3 separate regions of the Homo sapiens genome follow, and regions 1 and 2 are each linked to region 3. The links are contacts of gene promoters, found by promoter capture Hi-C in human tissues and cell types (Jung and others, 2019). All regions are on one chromosome and are shown on one strand. The core of a region is centred on a gene start or on the middle of the fragment in contact, and the rest is flanking DNA. Distances in the headings are between cores, read along the strand shown. Region 1 overlaps SCARB2 (scavenger receptor class B member 2). Region 2 overlaps SHROOM3 (shroom family member 3). Region 3 holds the start of SHROOM3 (shroom family member 3).

What was found. The method cuts DNA at HindIII sites, captures the fragments that hold promoters and counts their contacts. A contact is called where the count stands out against the background at its distance.
Region 1: a contact is called between a fragment that was not itself captured here and the fragment with the promoter of SHROOM3 in region 3, in 1 of the 25 tissues and cell types used here (thymus).
Region 2: a fragment that was not itself captured here is called in contact with the fragment with the promoter of SHROOM3 in region 3 in 1 of the 25 tissues and cell types used here (mesendoderm cells).

What each region holds. Positions count from the first base shown.
Region 1 is chr4:76,170,467-76,175,011 of GRCh38, forward strand. SCARB2 (scavenger receptor class B member 2) reads right to left here. Exons shown (of 12, transcript NM_005506.4): 7 at 3,678-3,847. Among named protein-coding and RNA genes, the nearest start is that of NUP54, 24 kb to the left of the region's middle. The HindIII fragment of the contact is 8,018 bases long and covers 1-4,545 here.
Region 2 is chr4:76,773,949-76,778,530 of GRCh38, forward strand. All of the region lies in intron 10 of SHROOM3 (shroom family member 3), which reads left to right. All of the region lies in intron 1 of SHROOM3-AS1 (SHROOM3 antisense RNA 1), which reads right to left. Among named protein-coding and RNA genes, the nearest start is that of SHROOM3-AS1, 26 kb to the right of the region's middle. The HindIII fragment of the contact is 8,803 bases long and covers 1-4,582 here.
Region 3 is chr4:76,433,729-76,437,883 of GRCh38, forward strand. It overlaps SHROOM3 (shroom family member 3), which reads left to right and starts at 1,501. Exons shown (of 11, transcript NM_020859.4): 1 at 1,501-2,492. The coding sequence starts at 2,325. The HindIII fragment of the contact is 12,167 bases long and covers 1-4,155 here.

The sequences.
Region 1 (4,545 bases), core at 949-3,448, 260 kb before region 3:
AATTCTCTATCAGTAAGTGGACTGACTTTTTATTTCTTGTCCTTTTTAAAATTAAAAAAAAATTTTTGGTGGTTTTTTGTTTTGTTTTGTTTTGTTTTTACCAAAGACAGGCATAATCTCAGCTCACTGCAGCCTCCGCCTCCCAGGTTCAAGCAATTCTCCTGCCTCAGCCTCCCAAGTAGCTGGGACTACAGGCATGCACCACCACACCCGGATAATTTTTTTGTATTTTTAGTAGAGACAGCGTTTCACCATGTTGGCAAGGCTGGTCTTGAACTCCTTACCTCAAGTGATCTGCCCGCCTCAGCCTCCCAAAGTGCTGAGATTACAGGCTTGAGCCACCACACCTGGCCTACATAATTTTTTAAGAGTTAGCCTGGTTGTGCTATACACCCAGCCTCTAACCAGATCACAAAGATTCTGGGGTTTTTCCTTTCCTATTCATTTTAAGAACCAAATAAGTGCTTATGTAAATTTAAATATATATATATATATATATATATATAACCAAATAGGGAAACAAGTTACTAAAGGAAACCTATTCTAGATCTGGCTATTGAAAAGAAGAGAGGGACCCAACAATTGCTGCCAGGGAAATACATTTTTGGAGAAAGGAGCTTGTCGGCAAGTTATTTAAATTTGCTTACATATTCACCAGCCCATGGCTTAAGGAACTCATCCCTCATCTCTCACATGCACATGCATTTTGCTGTTTACTGCTGAATAGTTCCACAAAGGCATGACTTCCTTCTTTGTGACCTATAATGACCTTGAAAATGTATTTTTTAAATCTGTTGAGGGCTTAATAGGGGCTACTGTCCTGAGTGTTTTATATATATTATTTCTAACTCTCACACAACCTCAAGAAGCTATAACCACCTCCATTTTATTAATGAGAAAACTGATGTCTGGAACCCTCCTTAATAAACTTTGGCCAATTTACCAACAAATAGAATAGGACTCAAACCCAATCTGCCTGACTCCAGAACACTCATCCTGCTATCCAAAATGTTTCCCTGGAGAATTCAAAACACTGGAGGATAATCCTGGGGAGTTTCACTTCAGTCCAAATTCGGGAATACGTTAAGAGGGAAGAGGAAAAGGATTGTAGCAAGAAGTTTAAATGTGTAAAGTAGAATACTTCTGTTGATTCTGGCATCAGCTTCTTAAGGAAACAGAATTTAATAAAAACAGCAAGAGAAAATATATCTACATTTTTGCTTTGAGCCAGATGCACACCAGATGAGGGGGCAGGGACACTGTTTCAGGACTATTACCAGTAAGGCAATGGGGGAGATCACAACCAGGAACTTGTTCCCATTCACCCTTGGTCTTTATCTCCAGGTAAAGGGTACCATGTTCCCTTGCACAATGGTCCCCAAATACCTAGACGCCATCTTTATGGAAATCAGCTGGAGTACTTGTTAAAAGTGTAGATTCTGGGGCCCTGGTATATCCAACATGGGACCCTGGGACATACATGCATGTGTGTGCACCATGAGTGTGTGTGCACACTTGCGCACGTGTGTGTGTATACCTATATATATATACTATATACATATATATTAAAATATAGCAAATATAAGTATATGCAAATATATGCATATTTATATATAACTATAAAATTTGTTAATATACTCATATATTAACAAATATATTAACATATACATACATAAATATATACATGTGGCTGTTAAAACTAGTCTTCAAGATGAAAAATACTTTTGTCAGTTGTATATATATATGTATATATACACATATATATGATATACGTATATATAAACAATTTTTTATATATATATAATTTTTTTGTTTTTTGAGACCAGGTCTCACTCTGTTGCCCAGGCTGGAGTGCAGTGTTGCAATCATAGCTCACTGCAGCCTTGAATTCCTACGCTCCAGCCTCAGCCTCCTGGGTATCTGGAACTATAGGTGTATGCTACTATGCCCAGCTAATTTTTAAATTTTTTGTTCAGATGGGGTCTCCCTGTTGCCCATGCAGGTCTAAATTCTTGGCCTCAAGTGAGCCTCCTGCTTCAGCCTCCTAAAGTGTTAGGATTACAGGCATGATCCACCATGCCTCACCAATATATTTTTAATAACTCTCCAGATAATTCTGATGTAAAGCCAGGTGTGGGGGTCACTGCCCTGTCAGACAAGGATCAGGAGGTATACTGCTGACTTCAGACTTATTCCAAAATGATATCTTATTCTTTTTTTTTTTTTCTTTTTTAAAAGATGGAGTCTCGCTATGTTGCCCAGGCTAGAATCAAACTGGGCTCAAACGACCCTTCCACCATAGCCTCCTGAGTAGCTGGGTCTACAGGCACACGCCACCATGCCAGGCCTGAAAGGAGATTTTAAAATGAGATAGATAAGGGAGCAAAAGTGAGCACATTACTATTCAGGAGAAAGGGACTACACAGAGAGCTCTCCAGAGAAATTTTAAAGAGGAATTACAGCCCAAGAGGGAATCACAGGGCAAATATGAGAAGACCCTGAGTTCCGCCAGGGATCTGCTCAGAGGGAGGAGTCGCATCAAAATCACGTTCCCTCTCTGAGCCCTAGTTTCCCCAATTATAAAAACAGGCCGCTGAATGTCTACTATCTAGTAAGTTCATTGTGAATAATTCTGCAACATGTGGCTGTTAAAACTACTCTTCAAGATGAAGAAAATAGTTTTGTCAGTTGTGCCACTGATAATTCTGCCTCATTCATGGAAAGGAGCAGAGTAGCTCTGACATTAAGAAACACTGGGACATTTGTGTCAGGGTTTAAAACTAACTCTGCTTCAAAATCACTGAGAATCTTTGCCATGATACGTACTTTCTTAAAACTGAGTTGTCCACTTTTTCTTTTAGCTTTTTTTTTTTTTTGGTGGGGAGGTGCGGAATCACTCTATTGCCCAGGCTGGAGTGCAGCAGCACAATCATAGCACAGTGCAACCTCGAACTCCTGGGTTCAAGCAATCTCTCTGCCTCAGCCTCCTGAGCAGCTGTAACTACAGGTGTGTGCCGCCACACCCAGCTAATTTTTTAATTTTTTTTTTTTTGTAGAGACAGGGTCTTGCTATGTTGCCCAGGCTGATCTTGAACCCCTGGCCTCAAGCAATCCTCACATCTCGGCCTCTCAAAGTGCTGGGAATACAAGCATGAGCCACCGTGCCCAGCCTTAGCATTGTTTTGAACATGAAATCAGTTAATGTTTTGCATGCATTAACTACATGTAAATATGTAAAGCACTTAGGACAGTGACTGGCATACATCAGGTGCTTAGTAAACATGAGCTATTATTACTGTTAAGACTTCTAAACCACTGTCCAGAAAAAAAAACACAACATGGCATTCTAGAAATAAAAAGCATCACAGAAAAGCCATGATTTTTTTTTACCATTCAATAGCCATGTTATGAAACATTGTTCTTGAAAGAAACTGATCTTTCTATTGGGCTGACAATATATTCTTTTTTGTTTGTTTTGTTTTTTAGAGACAGTGGTCTCGCCATGTTGCCCAGGATGGACTTGAGAACTCCTGGGCTCAAGTGATCATCCCACCTCAGCATCCTTAGTAGCTGGGACTGTAGGTGTGCGCCACTACGCCCAGCTACATATTCTTTGTTGAACTCCAATCCTTCTGCATTCTTGACACCCCTATCATGTCCCCTCTCTGAGTTCTTACCATTCTTGCAGATGCTGACATTCAGAACTCCTGAGCCCAGGCAGTTTCCCTCAGGTATACAGAAGCCGGCATTGTCTGACGTATTGGCTAATATTTCTGCAGGAACTTTATACCGAAAGGCAGGCAGTCCCTGTACACTCTCATAGTCACTGAAAGTAATATACACTGACCTGTTAGGATGTAAGAATAAAAAGTGAATGTGGACTCTGGTCAGTGTAATCTGCCCGAAATCCGCAAGTTAGCAACAGTTCTCAGGTACAACATGGCCAAAAGCTCACAGGGTAAGTAGAAAGGAATGTTTGGAAGGCATTCTGTCAACTCAACGTGTAATAAAGCAGAAGATGAATTGTAGTGGAAGGTGTTTATTGTAGCAACGGTGATATCATCCAAACAAGAAAAAACAATATGTGGTACAAAATTAAGATGATAACATTTAGAATGGAGACTCACATAAAAAAGAAATAAGAGGCCTCTCTAGACCTGCATGGACATATGCCAGTGTGGACGGGCCACCGGCAAAGCCAGGGAAGCCAGGGCACGGCAGAGCCAAAGCTAAGGTAGAACAGGCAGCGATGGCCGTGGCCTCGTAGGGTCTTAGGCACTTGAAAAGTGTCACATTGGACAGATACTTTATTGGAATACACACTTTGATACTCAATCCCCCCCTCCAAGAAAAATCAGATTCCATATTTTGCCCCAGTCATTTATTTAAATGGAGTTCAACGTAATTCTGCCTTTCATTCTTACTGATTTCAAACATAGTCCCATGTAATATGACCACTGCTTACACTGCATAGTGCCTAACCACTTTGATGTACACAGTCACCACTGAGCCTTCAGCCCTTCCTTTGAAGGCTGGCCGGAAGAG
Region 2 (4,582 bases), core at 1,307-3,806, 340 kb after region 3:
TTTGTGACTTACTCAGCCTGGGGAGGGGCAAGATTGATGTTAAAATAACAGTTGGGAGGCTCATTTTAATAGTCTAAACAAGGAGGGTTTATGCTGTTGATGTAGGCAATTGTCCTGGGGGTAGAGAAGAGGGGATAAATTAGAGAATGAATTTGTATTAGCAAGGGGCATGTTAGATGAGGGGAAGGGTAGAGCAGAAAATAATTCCAAGTTTCCTATTGGGCCACCTGGATGAATGCTCTAGATATCTGAGACAAGAAAGACTGGAGCAGTTTCTAGTTAGGGCAAGATAAATTGTTTTAGAACCGAATTAAATTCAACACTTACATGCATGCCTGCACTCTTAAATACAAGTAAGTTTGCTCACCCAAAAAATACTATAGCAGTATTGTTTTTTTATCATGATTGGTCTTTGTTAAGAAACTAAAACTATAAGTAGAAATGAGAAAAGGAAGAAAAATAGTTACCAAATGGGGAGTAGTGAAGACCAGGATTGGGGAGGAGTATCTATAAGGCTTTAACTGAATCTCTAAAAAAAATTTTTTTAATCTGCAGCCAATATGAAAAAAGTGTTCATATTAAGATTTGGCACCATTAATGATAGGTACACAGAGTGATTCTTTATACATTACTGATGTCTAAAATATTTTATATATTTTTTAAGGTAGGTGATGAAAAAATTCTCAATTTTTTAACTTACATCTCAATGATACTTTGAAAGGCATCCTCATTCAAATTCAGTCCCTCAGGGTTTTTTGGGGTTTTTTTTTTGTTTTTTTTTTTTTTAAGGTATGTTTTTCTGCTTAGGGAAAGGAAACTTATGCCAATAAGCCTGTAATTCTTCACTTTTCCCCCAGGCATTATTATGTAAGATGTGACAGGCTAGTTTAGGGGGATTTAGGGCAAAGACACATGAGTCTTTGATAACCCTACATAAGCTATTTTGTATTGAGGTATACTTAAGTGATCTTATTTCTTGATTGATTTTCATTTTAATTTTCCACAATCACTTTTTTTTTATTTCAATAGGTTTTTGGGGAACAGGTGGTGTTTTGTTACATTGATAAATTCTTAGTGGCGATTTCTGTGATTTTGGTGCCTCCATCACCCGAGCACTGTACACTGTACCCGATGTGTAGTCTTTTATCCCTCACCCACCTCCCACCCTTCCCGCTGAGTCCCCGAAGTCCTTTGTATCCTTCTTATGCCTTTGCATCCTCAATAGCTTAGCATCCACTTAAAACTGAGAACATAAAACGTTTGGTTTTCCATTCCTGAGTCACTTCACTTAGAATAATGGTCTCCAACTCCATCCAGGTTGCTGTAAATGCCATTATTTTGTTCTTTTTTATGGCTGAGTAGTAGTCCATGGGGTGTGTGTGTGTGTGTGTGTGTAAACCACAATGTGATACCACCTTACTCCTGCAAGAATGGCAATAAAAAAAAATACATGTTGGCATGGATGTGGTGAAAAGGGAACACTTTTACACTGCTGGTGGGAATGTAAACTAGTACAACCACTATGGAAAACAGTATGGAGATTCCTTAAAGAACTAAAAGTACATCTATCATTTGATCCAGCAGTCCCACTACTGGGTATCTATCCAGAGGAAAGAAGTAATTATATGGAAAAGACACTTGCACACTCATATTTATAGCAGTACAATTTGCAACTGCAAAAAAGGGAACCAGCCCAAATGCCCATCAATTAACAAGTGAATAAAGAAAATGTGTGTGTGTGTATATATACATAACATATTTGTATATGTGTATATACACATATATACACATACTATATATATACACACACCATATATATGTGTACATACACATATATACACATATATATACACACATACTATATATATACACACACACACACACATACATATATACACACATACCACATTTTCTTTATCCACTTGTTAATTGATGGGCATTTGGGCTGGTTCCCTTTTTTGCAGTTGCAAATTGTGCTGCTATAAACATGGGTGTGCAAGTTTCTTTTCCATATAATTACTTCTTTTCTCTGGATAGATACCCAGTAGTGGGATTGCAGGATCAAATGATAGATGTACTTTTCATTCTTTAAGGAATCTCCATACTGTTTTCCATAGTGGTTGTGCTAGTTTACATCCCCACCAGCAATGTAAAAGTGTTCCCTTTTCACCATATCCATGCCAACATATATTAGTTTTTGATTATGGCCATTCTTGCAGGAGTAAGGTGGTATTGCATTGTGGTTTTGATTTGCATTTCCCTGATAGAACTGTTCAGCAGTTTTTCACGTTTGTTGACCATTTGTCCATCTTCTTTTGAGAATTGTCTATTAATGTCCTTTGCCCACTTTTTGATGGGATTTTTTCTTGCTGATTTATTTGTAGATTCTGGATATTAGTTCTTTGTTGGATACATAGTTTGCAAAGATTTTCTCCCACTCTGTGGGTTGTCTGTTTACTCTGCTGTTTTTATTTTGCTGTGCAAAAGCTCTTTAGTTTAATTAAGTCCTATCTATTTATCTTTGTTTTTGTTGCATTCCCTTTTGGATTCTTTGTCATGAACTCTTTGCCGAAGCCAATGCCTAGAAGATTGTCTTCTTTCCATCTAGCTATTTTAGGCTAAGAGAAAAATGAAAGACTAATTACAAAAACCGTGGAGTTTAATTTCTGTTGTGCAAAAGAAGCAGTAGACGCTTAATATAAATGAATTCAAACTAGAAGCCACTAAGACATGTACTTCCTTCCTTCAGTTAAATATATCTTCTAGAATTTTTATGGCTTTAGGTCTTAGATTTAAGTCCTTGATCCATCTTGAATAGATTTTTGTGTAAGGTGAGAGATGAGGATCTACTTTCATTCTTCTACATGTGGCTTACCAATTATTCCAGCACCATTTGTTGAATAGGGTGACCTTTCTTCACTTTGTTTTTGTTTGCTTTCTCGAAGATCAGTTGGCTGTAAGTATTTGGCTTTATTTCTGGGTTCTCTATTCTGTTCCATTGCTCTATATGCCTGTTTTTACACTAATACCATGCTGTTTTGGTGACTGTGGCCTTGTAGTATAGTTTGAAGTTGGGTAACGTGATGCCTCCAGATTTGTTCTTTTTGCTTAGTCTTGCTTTGGCTATGCGGGCTCTTTTTTGGTTCCATATGAATTTTAGGATTGTTTTTTCTAGTTCTGTGAAGAATGATGGCGGTATTTTGATGGGAATTGCATTGAATTTGTAGACTGCTTTTGACAGTATGGTCATTTTCACAATATTGACTCTACCCATCCATGAGCACAGGATATGTTTCCATTTGTGTGTGTCATCTATGATTTCTTTCAGCAGTGTTTTATAGTTTTCCTTGCAGAGGTCTTTAACCTCCTTGATTAGGTATATTCCTAAGTATTTTATTTTTTTGCAGCTATTGTGAAAGTGGTTGAGTTCTTGATTTTATTCTCAGCTTGGTCGCTGTTGGTGTATAGCAGTGCTACTTATTTGTGTACATTGATTTTGTATCCTGAGACTTTACTGAATTCATTTATTAGATCTAGGAGCTTTTTGGATAGTCTTCAGGGTTTTCTAGGTATAGGATCATATCGTTGGCAAACAGCAACAGTTTGGCTTCCTCTTTACCAATTTGGATGCCCTTTCTTTCTTTCTCTTGTCTGACTGCTCTGGCTAGACCTTTTAGTACAATGTTGAATAGCAGTGGTGAAAGTGAGCACCCTTGTCTTGTTCCAGTTCTCAGGGGGAATGCTTTCAACTTTTCCTTGTTCAGTATAATGTTGGCTGTGGGTTTGTCTCCTCAGTTACTTTGCCTAAAATGTCTGAATGGTTAAATATAATTTTTTTAATTTAAAAATGATCATGTTGGAGAGAAAACCACATTAAAGATAACATATGCTACAATATCATAGAAAAGCATAAGAAACTCTTAGAATATGACATTGCCGTCATTGTTGAACAGAATTTCTCTCATTTTGGATCAGAGGCCTGCAAAAGAGAACTGAAAAAATGGAAACTGGCTTCTTTAGAGATGGGAAATATGATCTCATTGCTATTATGGATTAGGGAGAGGTTCTCAAACTTTAGCCGCAAAAGAATCATCTGGAAGGCTTGTTAAAACAGGTTGCTGGGCCTCACCTCCAGAGTTTTTTATTCAAGAGGTGGAAGAGGGCCTGAACCCTTGCATTTCTAACAATTTCCCAGGTGATGCCACTGCTGCTGGTCCAGCAACCACACCTTGAGAACCACCGTATTCATGTATATACTCAAGGTACCTTGATGATTTTTTTTTTTTTTTTTGAGACAAGAGTCTCACTCTGTCATCCAGGCTGGAGTGCAGTGGCACATCTCGGCTCACTGCAACCTCTGCCTCCTGGGTTCAAGCAATTCTCATGCCTCAGCCTCCCAAGTAGCTGGTATTACAGGCATGCATCACCATGCCTAGGTGATTTTTGTATTTTTAGTAGAGACGGGGTTTCACCATGTTGGCCAGGCTGGGTTTGAACTCCTGGCCTCAAGTGATCCATCCATCCCGGCCTCCCAAAGTGCTGGAATTATAGGCGTGAGCCACCAAGCCCAGCTGATGATTGG
Region 3 (4,155 bases), core at 251-2,750:
AATTAACCTATTACCTCACATACTAATTTTTTTTGTGGTGAGAGCACTTAAAATCTAATCTTAGCAATTTCCAAATATACAATACATTGTTATAACTATGGTCATCATGCTGTACAATAGATCTCTTGAGCTTATGCCTCCTAACTGAAATTTTGTATAGCTATGTTACTTTTAATATTAAATGTGGATTCTGTAAAATCCCAGTTTTTACAAAATGTATTAGGAGTAACATAATAAGAGCCTCATAAATTAATTTTTTCAGAAAGAAAGCTGTTCATTTACCTAGGACTTTTATTTAAAATACATATGTTCTTTGAAATGAAAGAAAAGCTAATGTTTCTCCATTTATTCTAACTTACAAATTAAGCTGTAAAAGAAAACCACAATAGAAATTGCGTAAATTACCCTTAAGAATCAGCCAATTTTTACCACATACTTTCATTTGGTACACCTTAGGTTTCCTTATGTTTCCATTCACATACTACCATTACATAAGGTTTTACTTTTTTTTTTTTTTTTTTGTCTTTGAGCCCTTCAAGTGAAGTTACCATTGAAAATCAAACAATACCTGTCCAGTGTTGTAAATTAAATATCGTGTAGTTTGATATCATATACCTGCCTTTCCATATCAGCCTTTCATTAATTATAAGTACAAACACCAAAATAATTGTTATCAAGCCCCACAGTAGTTTTTAACTTCAGTTTTCAACTTAATTCTCATTATCCCATACTTTTAAACAGAAAAAAGTTTTAGTACATATATTACCTGGAAGTAATTCTAATCTGTTCCAATAACTAAATAGCTGAGGCTTCTGGGTTAGATATGGTTATCTTCTACTGTTCAAATTTTTAATACAAAGCATGAATGTTAAATTTGTATATAACATTATTACAAAATGACACTGGTAACATGAAATCAGAACAACATTCTTTCCCGAGTACCTAGTACTTACCCACAAGGCATTGTAGATTTCTTTTCATTTAAAGAGTGGATAACAATCTTGGAGTAGATAACAATGAAAACCTAGAAAAAAAAACCCACCTCCTGTTTTTATTGAGTCAAACAAGCAGAACTTTGATTGGAAAGTCCCATTTCATATATTACACTGGTAGTATTTTCTTCTAACGAAAAAAAAAAAGCCCTTGTGCCACCACCTTGACATGTACTTAAACGTTTACCCAAATCACTTAGGCATTGCTTCTCAAACTTGGCTGCATAGCAGAATTGCCTGGAGGGTTTTTAAAAACACAAATGCCTATGTCTCACTCCCTGAAATTCTCCTTTAATTGGTACGAGGCGGGGCTATTCTAGGAACTATTTTCTATCCCTTGGCAATTAGCCATCTGTATAGTATTTTTAACTTCCTACGTGTTATTAACTGTAAGACTGTTTGAATTGTCAGGTCTTTGTGGTGAGCTGAATTCTGCATGGCAGTGCTTACTGTGCAGAAAGGTTGCAATGCCTCACTTTGCCTTAATCCATGTTCCTCTAACTTCCTTACTCTTTCTCTCAAGAGGAGGCAAGTGGCTGTGGCGGCCGCAGCAGTGGCTGATCATCACTGAAAATACCAAAGAAAAGAACTGAGCTGCCTCCTTCATATTTTTTCCATTGAGGATTAATTTACCGTGCTTTTTCATTTTCTCTACATCCTGCAAAAGTTTTTTTCTCTCCTAAGAAACAAACTATGAACTGATTGTTGAAAAAAAGAAGTAAAAAGTTTTAGCACAGCTTCTCTGTCTCTTCGGGACAAGTTAGAAAATTCTGAAGTGAGCCGAAGCATAGTAAGTGCTTTCTTTCTTTTTAAGCTACTTCTGGGGAGGGAGGAGGCTATTGTAATGGTAAATTTCACTCCGAGAGGAAGAAAGGGTTGATAATCAATCAAAAATGAGGTATTCCTTTGAGTATTTGTGATTTTCTTACTATATTGTAAGATGCTTTTAATTTTCTCTGTAAAATAGGCAGAAATGGTTTTAGTGTGTGTATGTGTGAAATAAAAGCTCAGAAAAGCAATCTTCAGAGCGCCACTGAAGGAAGTTTTGACGAACGGAGTAGAGATGTATACCACTTGGGGGCTTCAGTGAGAACCCAGAATTCCTGGAGGAGGATTTACATTCAGAAATGTTGAAGTGAAAATTCCTTCTGGTTCAGCATCTTGGAGTTCAGCTTGGAAGAACATTTTACGTATGGAAGAATTTGCTTCTCCAAACCTCTCTTTTGGCCATTGTGTGTCCTGAAGGATGGGACAACTTGTGCTGTAGAAGCACTGCTTGCCTGAGTTTGCTTCAGGCATTTTAAATTTAACTTGAGGGATCATGTGTTTGGCATGATGAGGACCACTGAAGACTTCCACAAGCCTAGTGCCACATTAAACTCTAACACGGCCACCAAGGGAAGGTACATTTATCTGGAGGCATTCCTGGAGGGAGGAGCTCCCTGGGGTTTTACTCTAAAGGGTGGCCTGGAGCACGGAGAACCATTAATCATCTCTAAGGTATGTTTCTTTTTCCAATATTGCCTTTATTCAAATTGTTTTTTTCAACTTGTCAGATTTGTCAAAAATGCAAAATAATGAGAACTGCCTTAATATAACTTAATTTGCTGTTTCATGCCTTTCTGATTATCTAGAAATATTTTGGATAGCCTGGGATTTGAAAGAAAAATGTGTCTAGCTCATTTATTCTATGAAATCCGAAGAAAAATATGCCTGTTTGATGGATAATCTTCTCTTTTTGTGAATGAAATCGCATACAATCAGTTACCACATGAGCTTTTCAGTTATAAATCAGATTAAAGATTAATAACATGGTTAAGATGGTGGCATGGTATATATTTGTGCATTCAAAAATATCTGCTTTTTCTCTCTTCAACTGAAAATAGCATCTAAAAATATTTTAAGTTTGCTTATAATTCTGGATAATAGATTGCATAAATACCATGTGTTGCTTTTTTTCCCCACACTCAGAAAGGAGAATTAAATCAGCTTTCAGCATAACTCAAGATCAAAACATTTCTGCCTCTCCTATTTATCTGTATATTTGAATCCCTTTTTAAACCTTAGTCATCCTGCAGCATACCTCAATTCTTCATTTATCTTTTGGTGTGGGTAGTCATACCAATGAAATATTTATGTACTGGGGTTAATATTTCTATTTTTCTCTTAAACTACAGATTAACATTACTTGTTATAATATTGCTTTTAAATTTTTAGAGTATTTAATAGTCTGATACAATAGATTATAATGGCTTTTCACACATGTGCATTCATCAAGAAACATTTGTAATTAAGGGAGAAAAAATTTTTAATTTGAGGGTGGGAAGAAGGTAATATGGATTGCATTTGAGCTCTGTTATTGGTTCAGGTTACTTTTCATATCCCCAGAAATAATTCCAAAAGGTTATTTTTCAAATTACTGAAGTAATTCTTACTGTGGATGAGCCAGGGAGAACTGGGTTTCACAGTGATAAGCCACGAGTGCACGGGACACCATTATAAGTTGTATGACTTTTCCTTAACTTTCTTAAGTAAAACAAAAGGATGTGCATATGTGTGTGTCAGTTAGGAAGGCTTCCCCCTGTGAAAAAAATTCAAAACCGAGTTTATAGTGGCTCTCAGTAAATTGGGGTTTGTTTTTCTCATATTACAAGAAGTTTGGAGGTAGATTTTCCAGGCAAGGGGAGCAGCAGCTCAATAATGTGATCAAGGACCCCACTTATCTCTCCACTCTGCCATTCTTATGATGTTGGCTTTGTCTTCATGGTTGCATGATGGATCCCACAACTCCAGCATTGATTGCATCTTCATTCCAGACAGGTTTTTGGCTTTTTGTTTCTCATTAGACCTTTGCTTTCATCTCATTAACCAGAACTGTACCCTGTGCCTGTCTTTAGGCCAATCACTGGTAAGAAATGCCAGTGATTAATACAGACTGATTAGGATTTCTTTCACAGGTTTCTACAATAAGGACCTACTCTTCCTGAAGTCAAGGAATCATTGCCCACTGTTTGAATGATTTGAGGTTCTTTTTGCAGGAAGAAAGAGGGCATGGTTGCTGAATAACAGATAATTCTGCAATGAACATAAATATTGTCTCGGCATTTAAAAAGTCTAGTTGTACACAATTTGCCTGTCCCTTAATGATAAAATATTCTGTATC